2 separate regions of the Homo sapiens genome follow, and region 1 is linked to region 2. Evidence: promoter capture Hi-C in human tissues and cell types (Jung and others, 2019). All regions are on one chromosome and are shown on one strand. The core of a region is centred on a gene start or on the middle of the fragment in contact, and the rest is flanking DNA. Distances in the headings are between cores, read along the strand shown. Region 1 overlaps LOC102724355 (a long non-coding RNA gene). Region 2 holds the start of ADAMTS5 (ADAM metallopeptidase with thrombospondin type 1 motif 5).

Region 1 (6,927 bases), core at 2,434-4,933, 310 kb after region 2:
TGATGGGGGCTATAAGAAATAAATTGGGATAATGTGAAAGAAAGTTTACTGGGAAAGAGGATTTGCTATTTTATTTTATTTTTCCTAGAGCAGGCTTCTCTGAAGACATGTCATTTTACCCAAGACCTGAAAGATGAGGATGGTCAAGCCCTATCACAAAACAAGTGAAGATGTCCAGGCAAGGTAAAAAGCAAGTCTTATCAACAGATGCTGGGGTTTATACTGTAACTTTCAGAGCTTTGAGGGAAACTTTCTGGCACTTCATAAGTGGAAAACAACTAAATCCCTTCCTCTTTCACACCCACCATCAACATCACCACCATCACCACCCCCACTTCACCCCCAATATCAACAATATCAATAAAGTATCAAATTTTAATTTGTACCAAAGAGAATTTACTGCCTAGAGGCTTCCCCACACGGGTGTAGCAGGAGGTTTAAAGCTACCTGTTGTGCTCCACAGTTTCTAAAACACAGGATGTAAATATTCTCTAGAAGAGTTTGGTCTAAATAAGTTCTATTTAGATTAATGTTTAAGTTATTAATATTTGTTAAAGTTTAGGTTAGTCTTATTTAGGTTAATGTTTAAGTTGACTTAAAAGTAAACTTTCAAATATAATTTTAAAATAAGTATATAAAGTACGTGTAATATATAGTCAAAAATTTTTGTGTAGATAGAACAAAGAAATGTTTAAGATTGTATTAGATGTTTTAAATAAAATGGTCTGCAAGATGAGGAATATGAAGAGTGCTGAAATGAAGAAAAATAGCTAGGAGCTTTCATCATGGATAACATTTTGTCATCTTCCTGCTGTGTGACAGAGTGTTTCATTTTCATTAGCATTTTAATAGGGGAAACAATTTGTTTGTTCATAGGCTTTCAAAGTCTTGTATTTGGAGACTTTTTTTGGAGAAATGAATGATGAGATATTTTAAATACTATTATATATGAATAAATTATGAACATTTAAAAACAAAGATGAAAAACTTGGAATTTGAAATTGATGTCTTTATGATCACCTAAAGAAAAATTTATGCCAGCAATAAGATACTTCTTTAGGATTTCAGAACAGTCTTTCCCTTTGGGATTTTTTTCTTCTTATTTTACTTCTCAAGAAAACATGCCTCTAAAATACCTCTAACTTTGCATTTAAACAATGATCGAAGCTTCTTATCTTGTCTGCATGCTTTTCGGTCAAAAATTGAACCTGATTTGTAATCTAACACATTATAAAAACCTCTGATTTATTAAATATGTATGAATAGCACAAATTTCTAAAATACTGAATATATTCTAGGATGTTAATTGCCAACAATTTTAAAATTATATTAAAATGCAAAACAGCTTTTAGTAGAAACTTTTGGTGCTCTAAATATTTACTGAAGACATTTGCCATTGAATCATTAAAAAAAAGCATCTCATTGGTTTCTAGGTGAGTAGACTATATGATTGTTTAGAATTACAAAATATAAGTTCTTGAAAATGTTAAACAGAGGCTAGAAATACCTGAAAATTAAAACTTTGGGGAAAAAATATTAACATTTTTGTTAAAACACAGAAGCTTTAAATATTATTTAAAGAATTTTTATTTTATATTTAAAAATCGTTTCCTGTTTAGTGGACTACTTATCATATTTTATAACATTTTACTCACGTAAATTAAATTACTGGTGTGTTTTAGTAGAAATGACTTAGAATTTAAAGTCTGTATGTTTGGTTTATTCCAGCTGAATTAATTTCAGCTGAATTAATTTGTCTAACTGATGCAGATCTTGACATTCTTATGTAAAAATGAGGATGATGCATCAGAGGACTGCGATGCTCCCTTTGAGTTTGAAGGCCTAGGAATCTGAAACTGATGATGGTAAACAAAACTTCTGGAAAGTTGGTTGGATATGATTGGATAACATTTTGTCATCTTTCTGCTGTGTGACAGTGTTTCATTTTCATTAGCATCTTTAATAGGGGAAACAATTTGTTTATAAATATAAATGTTATTAAGTGATACTTTCAGAATAATGCTATAAGCAGTGAGAAATTTGCTAAAGCACTTTCAAATTAGGAAAAGAAGCAAAAGTAAGCTTCAACAGAAATAAAATCTACTATATCTAACTAAAACGAAACAAAAGCGAACAAAATGATCCAAAGCAGATGACAGAAAACTTCCGGAAAACATTATTGGGTATAGGAACATAGAAATAAATAAAGAACAGGTTATTTATAAATTGTAGCAAAATATTAGAAGGCAAAGGTACTGTAATTTTAGGTCACAGAGATAGTACTTAATGAATTTCAGGCCAAATTTTATAACCAATAACCTCTGTGATTCAGAGTCTTAAGTAGGTAAATTTAAGTTACATAAATAGATAATAAATAATTCTATATTTTGAGGGTTATTAATTGCAAAATTTTCAATTACCCTCATGATTTCCCCCAAACATATGGTTATAGCAGCTAACCATCACTGAGAGTTTGAAGAGATACTATGTGCCAGGAATTACATAACCATATTAGTCACTGATTCAATTCTGCAGAAACGAATGCCTGCATATGAGGTTTTTTTACTGTTGTAACTGTCATTTTTTTCAGATGAAGAAACAAGTCATGCAGGAAGTGGTGGAGACAGCATTTAGATTTAGGTTTATTTCACAGCCCTTACTGTTAAGCATTTTGTCTATAATTCCTTGTTTGTTATATTTGTGTTTTGTGATTATCTTGTATTAATGAATAGAACCAGAGTTTGTCAAGTTTGACCAAGTTTTGCAAAGCAAGATTTCATGAGTGTGTATCTGGAGTGGACTGCTCAGAAAAACCATGTTTCCCTTTGGTTTTCTATTTAGGCTCCAGAACCCACTGAAGGAACACATTTTTTCTAATGAGTAGGTCCAAAGGCTTGCTCTCTGTGCTTGTATTCTCCCTATCTGAATGTGATGGAAAAATATAGTTAACTTTTTAGTTGTTAACTCTGGGATACAGAATATTGTCTCACCCAGTGTGTTAATATTCCCAGAAGTTGTGGCATCACTGAAAAAGCACTTCTGTTAAAATGTGTTGATCTTCTTACATGTCACTCAGTATTATACTTAATTAACTCTCAAATTCACTTAGAGGCACTTGGCCAATTCAATCCAACTTTTCAGTTTATTTTTCAGTATGAAGTAATTTCAACTCATAACAATAGGTATTGAAATGAATATTTTTAGCCCTATATAATATTAAATGTGTTACTTTTACTTGTTTCAATTTTCATGAATCATAACTATGATGATTGTCACTTATTGTATAGCACAAACCAATAAGCATCATCCTTCTCTTTTGCAATGTTTGATTTTAGTCACAGATCAATTTCAGAATGTTAGGTGCAGAGGCTCATTAGAGCTCATTTGGTTCAAATTATCATTTTCAAAGATACCAGATCATGTAAATTACTCAGGTGATAATTATTTTTATTGTAATTATAATAGTAACAACATGATTATAATAGTAACAACATGTTTATCAGAAAGCTAATATTTGTTTGATTATTTGACTTACAAAGCACTTTTATATGCATTATTTCATTGAGTTTCCTATAAATTTTGTGAGTAGCAGAAGAGATGTGATTATTATTAATGTGTACCAGTGGGAAAAGACAAGTTTACTAATGTTAAGGGATTTTTCTCAGGCTCATATAAGCTATAAATAAAATAAAGTAGTTCAAATCAGAATTTCTGCTCCTTTCACCTTATAGTAACACCTTGTTTTTATTTTTTGAATGATTATCAAATATTTCAGTATTCCAAAATGAATAAAGAACCTAGAGTGAACATCATACATTCAGGATCCTCCTCAAGAAAGAAAATATGACTGAAACCATTGATGGCCTCAACATATTCTTCTACAATTGATTTGTTCATTATCTTTTAATGGACATTTTGCTCTGAGTGAGAAAGAGAGAGAGGCCGGGAGGGGGGAAGGGCACAGAATTGTATAGGGTATGCACATTTACAATTTTATTTGATTCACCAACTTGCTCTCAAACAGGGTTGAACCAATTGTTGCTCTCAAGCATGCATAAGATATTCTGTTACTCTTTGCAATCAGCCACATTTACAGTAGTGTATAGTAGTGCATGTGCCGGTGTAGTGTGTGTGTGAGCGCATGGGAGCGAGCGAGCGAGCGAGAGAGACAGAGAGAGAGAGGGAGGGGGGAGAAGTAGAGAGAGAGAGTTTTAATTTGGCCATTTTTATGGAGAGAGAGAGAGAGGGAGGGAGGGAGAGGGGAGAAGTAGAGAGAGAATTTTAATTGGGCCAAGTTTATGGAGGTATGAAATGATTATTTTTTTCTTATGGTTTTTAGTTACATGTCTCTTATTACTGCTGAAGTTAGCACACTTTCAGATAAACATGCAGAAACACACCCACCATTTGGATGTCTTCCCTAGGAATTGCCTGTACATAAACCTTGACCTCTCTGCTTGGATAGCTGACTTTTTATCTTGTTGATTCATAGGAGTTATTTACATACTTTGGATAAGAATTCTTGCAGATTATGTTATTTTTCCCAGAGCTTGGTTTTTTATTTTCACATACATACTGCCTGTTTTAATGAGAAGAAATTTTAAAAGTATCTACTTTTTATCCTTATCTTTCCTGTTTTAGCTATTTATATCTTGTTTAATAAACATTTCTTTTCCCTGAGGCAACAGAGACATTCAGACACATTTAAAAATTTTTACATTTTCAGTATTCACTTTTAGGTCCAACGTACCTTGAATTCATTTGTGTGTGTGTGTGTGTGTGTGTGTGTGTGTATCCTGTAGGTATGGATCTAACTTAATTTATCACAGGAATAACTGTCCCAGCTCCATTTAATGGCTACTGTGCCCTTTTCTACTGACCTGGTGCCTCTGTCACATGTTGAGTTTCCAACTGATTCAGCACTCTGTATTTCAGCTCTTCACTGTGTGGCCTTAGATTTGTCGCCTGTGGATTACTATTTAAATGTTCATTGTTTTACCTTTAAATAAAATTTCTTTTAGAACAGGGTAATTCCTTCTCTTTTTTGGCTCCTCCTTGCTCCTTCCACTTTCCTTCCCTCCTCCTCACACTTCTCTTTGTCTTATGAAATTATCTTGCCAATTTTTTGAACGTTTGCCCATCCAGTCAAGTAACAAAGACTTAGATACATTCATGGAGAAGTGACCTTGTTGAAAATTGAGAAATGGCTGCTTTCTCAATTTCTGCAAGTCTTTAAAAGTGTCTTTCAAGAATTATATATCATTTTTACCCTACAACTAATAAAGAAATGACAATTTTATTATTATTATGGATCCAGTATATCCTTAATAATTATTTTTAGTATAAAATCTGTTTTATTACATCAATATAGTTTGAATATTTTCTTTCAGTTACTATTCACTTGAGGTCTTCCTTATAAATAACATTTATTAATATATAGAGTCTTTTTTTTTTTTTGAGACAGTCTTGCCCTGTCACCCAGGCTGAAGTGCAATGGCACAATCTCAGCTCACTGCAACCTCCACCTCCTGGGCTCAAGTGATTCTCCTGCCTCAGCCTCCCAAGTAAGCTGGGATTACAGGCACACACCACCATGCCCAGCTAAATTTTTTTGTATTTTTAGTAGAGACAGGGTTTCATCATGTTGGTCAGGCTGGTCTCGATCTCCTGACCTCAAATGATCCCGCCCACTTCAGCCTCCCAAAGTGCTGAGATTACAGGTGTAAGCCACCGCGCCTGGCCTAGAGTCATTTTTTAATCCAACTAAATTATATTTGTTTGTATAACCAGTGAGCTTATCTTATTTTATTTCAATCAAAAATATATTTGTTTTTGTCTCTACATATTTTGTTCTTCCTACTTATTTGTCTTTTGGCCTGACTTAATTGTTCCTCTTTTCCTGTTTTCTTTGCAAGTAAAACATGTTTTTTCTCCTTTTCTTAATTACTTTGAGCTGGTATAAGAACATACCATAAACTGGGCAACTTGTGAGAAACAGAGCTTATTTCTTCCAGTTCTGGAGGCTAGGAAGTCCAAGATTAAGATGCTAGCTGACTCTGTATCTGGTGTGGGCCCATTTCCTGGTTCATAGACGGTGCCTTCTCACTATGTCCTCACATGGTGGAAGCGCCAAGGATCTCCCTTGGGCCCCATTTATAAGGGCACTAATCGCATCATGAAGCCTCCACTTTCATGGTCTGATCACCTCCCAAAAGTCCCCACTTCCTAATATTATCATCTTGGGGTTCATATTTTAACATATACATTTAGGGGAGACACAAACATTTAGACTACAGCACCTCTGTGTTCAACTGTTTACTGACATTTTAACATTCTTTCTTAAGGAATCTAAAGTAAATCTAATATTTTTCTAACTTCTTTAAGAACAATCCCCAAGCACATATTGGGGGAATACATTATTTATATAATTTAATTATTCCTTTTTGTACAATGAATCCTTCTATCTAGTAATTAATTTAGATTTATTTATATGTATATCAATTTCTTTGCCCATCATTTCTTCTAGTCTCTCAGTCTTCCTTCTGTGATCATTTAATCATTTGAAGAGTAATAATTTGCTGTTTTACAAAATCCTTATTTATTTGGCTTTGATATTTCTTGATAATTTAATAAGATTATGAATTTATGTCAAGAACACCACAAAAGTGATTCATGCCCTTCACAAGGCAGCATTTCAGGTGGCACATACTATTTGGGTGTCTCATTACTTGCAATGTTAAATTTATCACTTGGTTAAGTAAAAAAGAAGTGTCATGAGGATAAAGAACGATGGTGTACTTGTCCTAGAATAAAGGAGACGAAGGAAATCCCATAACTGAATGAAATGTGTGATCCTGGATTGAATCCTGGACCAGAAAAAGGAACACTATTATTAGGACAATAAATGAAATTTGCATAAGGTCTGTA
Region 2 (6,621 bases), core at 3,096-5,595:
TGGTGCCAACTCTGGGTATTTCTCATTGAAAAGGAAATAGCTCTGAAAGCTTTTCTTTGGGCCTTAAGATAATCTGATTTTCATGAGATGGAAGACCTCAGATCATCTCTCCTCCAGACTTCTTTTTTTTTTTCATGCTCTGAAGTATTAGGCAAAGTTCACTTTGCATTGTGAAATACTCTCAAATGAATGCTGCATAAATGCCTTGAAATTTTTTTCAACCCCCTAATTAGTAACACTCTTTTAAATTGGGCGCATCTATTGAAAATACACATGCATTTCAAATATTTGCTTCTTGTGAAGTTAGATGTGTATACTACAGGGCCAACCACAAATGAAATTTGTTTTCCTAAAAGTATGCTTCTGCTTGGCAAGGAGACCAGAGAGGGCCCATGTGAAATATTTTCCATGTGTAGACTAGTTTGAAAAATGCATGTCCTTATAATACTGACAAAAATTAAGATGGACCATTAATTTATTTGTCCCTTGCTTTGTATCTATTTAAAATATGCTGTTAAGTTTCAGACTTTGGAAAAATAGGGACAGTTAACTATCCAAACAAAAAACAAATTCGGAAAAAGTAATCGACAAATCATTGAGAATCACTGAGTAGTTTCCTGTTTTCTGGGAAACAATTAGGAATGTTATGGGGCAGGAGGTAGGAAGTAACAGACCTTCTATTAATTTTTATTTATTTTAAAATTATGAAATGTGGATTTGTGTTTAAAAATGAAAGTGAACTACTAAAATGACCCACTCCTTGGCGCAGTATGCTTACAAAAGTATTTCTTCCTCTTCCTTTAGAGAACCTCCTTCCATAAACTCTCCAAAGCCTCCTTCTTGGCATCCTCTTGTGATGTAGCAGAGCAAGGAACCCCAGACACGGAAAGTTGCTTACCAAAAAAAAAAAAAAAAAAAAAAAAAAAAAAAAAAAAAAAAAAAAAAGAGCTTGGAAACCTAACAAGAAATGGATAGTTTTACAGAACTTCATTTTGCAGAGAAGGCTACAAATGAATGTTCTACCGCTTCAAAGACTAATGTTGTGCAGAGGAATTAAAGGATGGCTTCCAGAAAATCACTTAATGAGGAAAAAAATGTTTTCCATTGTGCACAGCACTGCGCGCTGCTTGGCTCTCCCTAAACTGCCGCCCTCCAGCATCTTTGTTTACATGTGGTTTACATTAATGTCCACCCTATGAACCACAAGTGTTTCTCTACTCCAAATTTATCAACACTTTTCCTTCATACCAGGGGTGCCTTAGTAAAAATAGAAGAATTAGGTAGCGAAGCTGTGTGATTCTAAAGTCTGCAATCCATCATTTAATTTCCTATCCTTGTTCTGTTTGCTTCATTTCATACCATGATTTTACATAATACTTCAAAGTTTGTAATCCTTAATCTATTCTGGATGGGTCTCAAATACTTAAAGAATGAGCTTTAGAAGTCAATTCTTACCAGGCATTTAAGAGGCACAACTTAAAACTGCCAATCAGAGTCGAGTTGTGACAACTGAGGCTTAGAACTATGCGCAAGCCAGGCCCCAAACCAACCCAGACTTTTTGTGTAAATGTCACACTAACGTAGTGGTCAAATACTGTGTAAATAGATACTGCGTTCCTCCCTGAGCCTCTGAGCCTTAAAGATCCATTTCTTTGCTTCCCCATAACCATCTTTCTTAAAAGGGGGAAATGCTGGGAAAACATTTCTTCCTTCTGTCTTGACTCTTCGCCCAGATCTTCTGCACTGGGGCTTCGGAAACATATTCATCCAAAACCCAAACACGCAAACGGGATGTGACCCTCCCTAGGCGGCGGAGTTGGCCTGGGCAGTGCTTGCGACGCACTGGTCGACTAAGCAAAGGAGTTGTTAAGGAACCTCACAAGTTTGTCCTCTCATCTGATTGGGTCTCTGTACCCTGCTGGCCCGCCCACATTCCTTCCTTCCCAGGAACTGAGATTCCAAGGTGGACATGTAAGAACTCCATTAGGAATCCAACCTGGAAAAAGAGTCCTTGAGAAAGTTTTCTCATCCTCTGTGTAACAGAAGGGATTCTAGTAAAAAGGTGTGGACACTTACAAAAGAAGGTCATCGGATAACAGTGAGTACCGTGAGTGAACCATCCAGCCCTTTCCATTAGGTGGGACAAGGTTATATTTTATTTTCACTGGAAAGAAGAAGACCCATGATCCCAAAGGCAACTTTGTTTTCCTTCCTTTTCCCCATTTAACTGTATCATTTCCCCAAGCATCCTTGTGCCTTCTTATGTTTACGTTCCTATGCCACAACACCTCAGACTAGATGACATGCAGCACTACTGGGTCTTCATCATCACCTAAGCAAGTCTTGGCATTTAAGGCAAAAATTTCTGCGGGGCTAACGTGAATACAGGAGCAGAGTTGAAGGCTGGTTGGATTTCCTGCAAGAAGCAGTTAAACACATCCACAGCTGCAGGAGGTTTGAGGGAGAAGCAAAGCCACCAGCAAGATTCCCTTCTACCTACCTCCTGATATCAGCGCTGGGACCCCCGCATCCCGGCTGGACCTACCTCCCGAGTAAACAGGATAGCTGCATCGTAGTGCTCCTCATGGTCATCTCCCAGCTGGTTGTGTTGGTGCTGCCACTTGCAAAAGTTCTTGAGTGTGGTGGCAGCGTTCTTGCTCACTTCCAGGCTCTTGTCCTTGTCGCCTAGCACCACCACCTTCACCACGGCCAGGCGGATGTGGTTCTCGATGCTAGCATGGCTGTACAGCCTATTGGCGATGGAGGCCAGGGTCAGCAGGTAATGCTGCAGGCCCCGGCCATACAACCGCGCCATGGACGCGTCAGCCACCAGAAGCAGCTCCACCTGGCGGGCCCGGGAGATGGAGCGGCGCCGCCGCCGCCACCACGTCTGCGGTCCTGAGCCCCCAGCGGGCGAGAGAGCGGACTGGTCCAAGAGCTGCGAGGCCAGTGCTGCGCGTCCGCTCGGGTTGCTGTGCGCCGGAGCATGCTCGTGGGCCTCCGGTGTGGACGCGGGGGTTTCGCAGCTGGCGCGCGGCGGCAGGGCCTCGAAGCTGAAGCCCTCGCGGGTGTAGACGTGCAGGATCCGTGCGGACCCATCCCCGTACACGCGCCCCTTTTCTTCCTCCGCCCAGGGTCCGCGCAGCAGTGGCTTTAGGGTGTAGCGCGCGTGCTTGACCGCGAAGAAGCCGTCGAGACCCCCACAGAGGTCAAAGACAGCCAGAGAGCGGGGACTACCGTCCACTGTGCCCCGATAGAAGCAGTGGCTCCGGTGGCGCCAGGGCGCACTCGTCCCGCCTCCTGCGGGCACGAAGCCAGCAATGCCCACCGAACCATCTCGCTCCAGGTCCAAGAGGAACCTCCGGCCGCCCGCGTAGACGAGGTAGCCCACCTTGCCGCCGCCGGAGTAGAGTTGGTCGATGTTCTGCACCAGCCCCTTGCTCCTGCGCCGCTGCGCCAGGGGGTGCGGGTGGCCGGGAGGCTCGGCTCGCTCCTGCACCTCCTCCCCCTGCCGCCGGCGGGGCTGGGCGGCTGCTGCAGCAGTCGGAGGCTGCCCGGCTTTATCCTGGGCAGGTGTCGCGGCGGGGCCGACCGCGGCCAGGGGCAGGCGGAACGCGCACAGCAGCAGGGACGCCCACCCGAGCAGCATAGTGCGCTGCCCGCGGGGAGGGGCTGCGCGACTGGGACTTTATGGGTATTTGTTATTTGCTATGAAGTTAACGGGGCGGGGGATGGGGACACACACACACTTGCTTGCAGGATTGAGTCAAGTGTCGGAGGGAGGGGGGCCCGGCAGCAGCGCCAGCCTGTCCGGGCTGCGGTGCCAGCGTGCGAACTTTTCTTTGTTGCTTGGGAAAATGTTTGGATTCGTGCTCCAGAAAGAGGTGGGGTGGGGGGGGGGGGAAAGAAAAGATTAAAAAAAAAAAGTCGGATAGTGGAGATTCAGCAAATACGGGAAAAGGAAAAAAACAAAAACCAAAAAACCACCAAATGCAGGCACGATCGCTGTTTCAAGAAAAGTAAGGAAAGGTACCGCGCACCGGGCTGGCAACTGGTGCGCGCAGCCTCCCGCCCCCGCGCTGCGCTGGACAAGCCGGCTGTGGAGGTTCCAAGCTCCGGGGCCCACTTCCTTTCTTATTTTGTGGGTTTCCTTGGCTCTGCTGGGACCAGGAGGAAGGGAAGAAAGAGAGGGGAAAAAGCCGTAAAAATTAAAACAAAAATGCAGGGGGGCAGCCTGAGGCGAGCTGGTGAAGCGGCGTGTCTGTGTCCCTTCGGCTGCGGTCTCCTCCTGCCCGCCGTCATCCCCAGTCGGCAGCTGCGAGCGCCGAGAGCAGCGCGAGCGCTGTGAAGATGCGAGGAGGTGGAACAATGAATTTATAGCGGCATGCCATCCTGCAATGGCAATTTCAACAGTTCGTCACTGCACGCTGCCTCTTAAAGGGAGAGCTTCCCCCACCACTCCCACCCTTCCCAGTCCGCGCCTAATCAGATGGGGGAGGGCAAAAGAGGAGGGTGATCGAGGAAAGGGAGACGAAGTAGGAGGAAGGGACTGGGACCCGGCGAGGTGGTAGGAGGGGAGAGGGGAAAATAAAAAGTAATGGGGCAAGAAAAACAGATTTCCTTGGCCACTTTTAAAGCCACAGCGGCTCCGGGTCTGTCTGATATTTCACAACCAATTGGGGTTGGCTAACCTTGGCTTACCTCATCTCCTGAACGGGTGTTTTGGTTAAAGTTATTGAGACGTTTCAAGTCTCTCCCTGCCTCCTTCTTGCCTGCTTTTCTCGCCCTCGGTGGGAAGTTCCTGCCGCAAGTTTTTCCCCTTTGCACACCCGTGCGCTCTGGCCTCGCAGACCGTGCAACTCCATCCACCAGCCAGAGCTTTTCAGCTTCCCGTGCGTCCCCTAACCACCGCGTTCCCTTCGCTTCCTCCCCTCCGTCCCGGCACCCGGTTTCCTCCCTCCCCATTCTCCAGCCTCTTGATGCTTTGACGCTCGCCGGATTCGGGCTCCGGGTGACTAACTTCTCCCGGCCACCAGCAGAGCGGCTGGACAGCCAGAGAGCCCAGGGCGCTTCCTGGCGCGCTGCGGTACCCCGGGGCGAGAACGCCCGCCGCTTGGGAACTCCGCAGCTTTGTGTGCGAACGGCGGGCTCCCAGCTTTCTCCAGCACGCCTTTCGTCAGGGTCCACAATCTGTCCCTTACTCCCAGCCCACTGGAACTTCCTTTGCTCTAAAAAGGCAGAGCGAGAAAGAGTTAACTCTTAGAGGGAATTCCGCTCATTTTTTTTCCCTGAAAGATTTTAAAATTTTGCGCTCATACTTTTATTTTTTGCTTAAATGATACTTTAATAATAAATTCCTATATCTGTTTTTGTCTCTTCTAAAGCAACCACTTATCGCCATAGGCCTTGACCTACCTTCATTCTCAGAAATTCCTTTTAGAAGAAAAAGAATACTTTTGGCGGAAGGAAGATTGGTGCTTATTAGTACGCGGGTGACATTATCACTGCTACTCGTTTCCTCTGACCTCTTTGTTTCCTCTAATTATCATTCTAAGAAGGGAGAAGGAAAACCCGACGACTTATGGTTAGAAGGTCTACCTTCTACTGTAGGGGTAAGAGCTCCCTCCATGCCCAAATTATTCTTCAGGCTAATTAACTAATGCACCAGTGAAAAATGAATGTGGTGTAATTTGTACATTTCCATCTTTTTCTACGTTTAACTTTGGCTACGCTGGGGATAGCAGGGCGGGTGCCTTAATGGGGCCCCAAGCTGATCGCTTTCTCTGGGAGGGAACCATGAGGGTCCAGAGCTTGATGGAGGTTCTTAGAGTGGCAATAATCCTCTGGAAGGAATTTCAGAATTGCCCGGCAACAATACCCATTGCCGTGTGCCTGGGAACACCCTCTGGAGTCTTGTGAGGGGCAGATGTATCATCTTGTTTTAACTTATAAATAAAGAAATCACTGGGGCCTTAGGGACACCCAACAGCCCCTGATAGATTCTGAAATACATCAGGACCAGGGAGGAAGTTACTATTGCTGAAGGCCATTGCTTTATAATTCCACAATGCCTCAGCCTCTCAGTGGCCAGTTGACCCAGGCCAATGCTAACAGCTGGATGGGTCAGAATAGGAGGTTCCAGCCATTTTCTCTATCCCACCAAGGCCTTTGAGCCTTGCATTAGCCGTTCTCTTTTGTGGTCCTTGCTTTGCACCTACAAATAGCAAACTTTTATCTTTTTAACCAGTTACAGTGAAAAGGAGTCCAATATTTGGCACTAAACACCATTTCTAATACAACCTTGATTCAATAAATTTAACAATTTTGTCATTGTTCATGCCAAAGAATCATTTTAATAGGCATTTTAGGTGACAGTGGTTAAAATTTGTTAATTACAATTATTTTCATTCACAGATAGATTTTGTTATTTAGGATTTCAGGAAATTCCAACAGATTCTCTTTTCTTTGATGGTCTTGAACTCATAACCTCCAGGGATTCTCCCACCTGATGAGACACAGTGACGGCTTGAATTTTCTTCTTAATGAAGCTTTTCTCCTCTTTCACAAACACCGTGCTGAATCCTGAATCTGAATATTATGCCTTTAAGTTTAATTATATAG

What was found. The method cuts DNA at HindIII sites, captures the fragments that hold promoters and counts their contacts. A contact is called where the count stands out against the background at its distance.
Region 1: a fragment that was not itself captured here is called in contact with the fragment with the promoter of ADAMTS5 in region 2 in 6 of the 25 tissues and cell types used here (H1 embryonic stem cells, dorsolateral prefrontal cortex, heart right ventricle and 3 more).

What each region holds. Positions count from the first base shown.
Region 1 is chr21:27,272,898-27,279,824 of GRCh38, forward strand. The region is part of intron 1 of LOC102724355 (a long non-coding RNA gene); the gene reads right to left. Among named protein-coding and RNA genes, the nearest start is that of ADAMTS5, 310 kb to the left of the region's middle. The HindIII fragment of the contact is 8,219 bases long and covers 1-6,927 here.
Region 2 is chr21:26,962,743-26,969,363 of GRCh38, forward strand. It overlaps ADAMTS5 (ADAM metallopeptidase with thrombospondin type 1 motif 5), which reads right to left and starts at 4,346. Exons shown (of 8, transcript NM_007038.5): 1 at 2,546-4,346. The coding sequence starts at 3,649. It overlaps LOC124905050, which reads right to left. Exons shown (of 3, transcript XM_047441063.1): 2 at 4,702-5,228; 3 at 3,914-4,342. The coding sequence ends at 3,914. The HindIII fragment of the contact is 10,779 bases long and covers 1-6,621 here.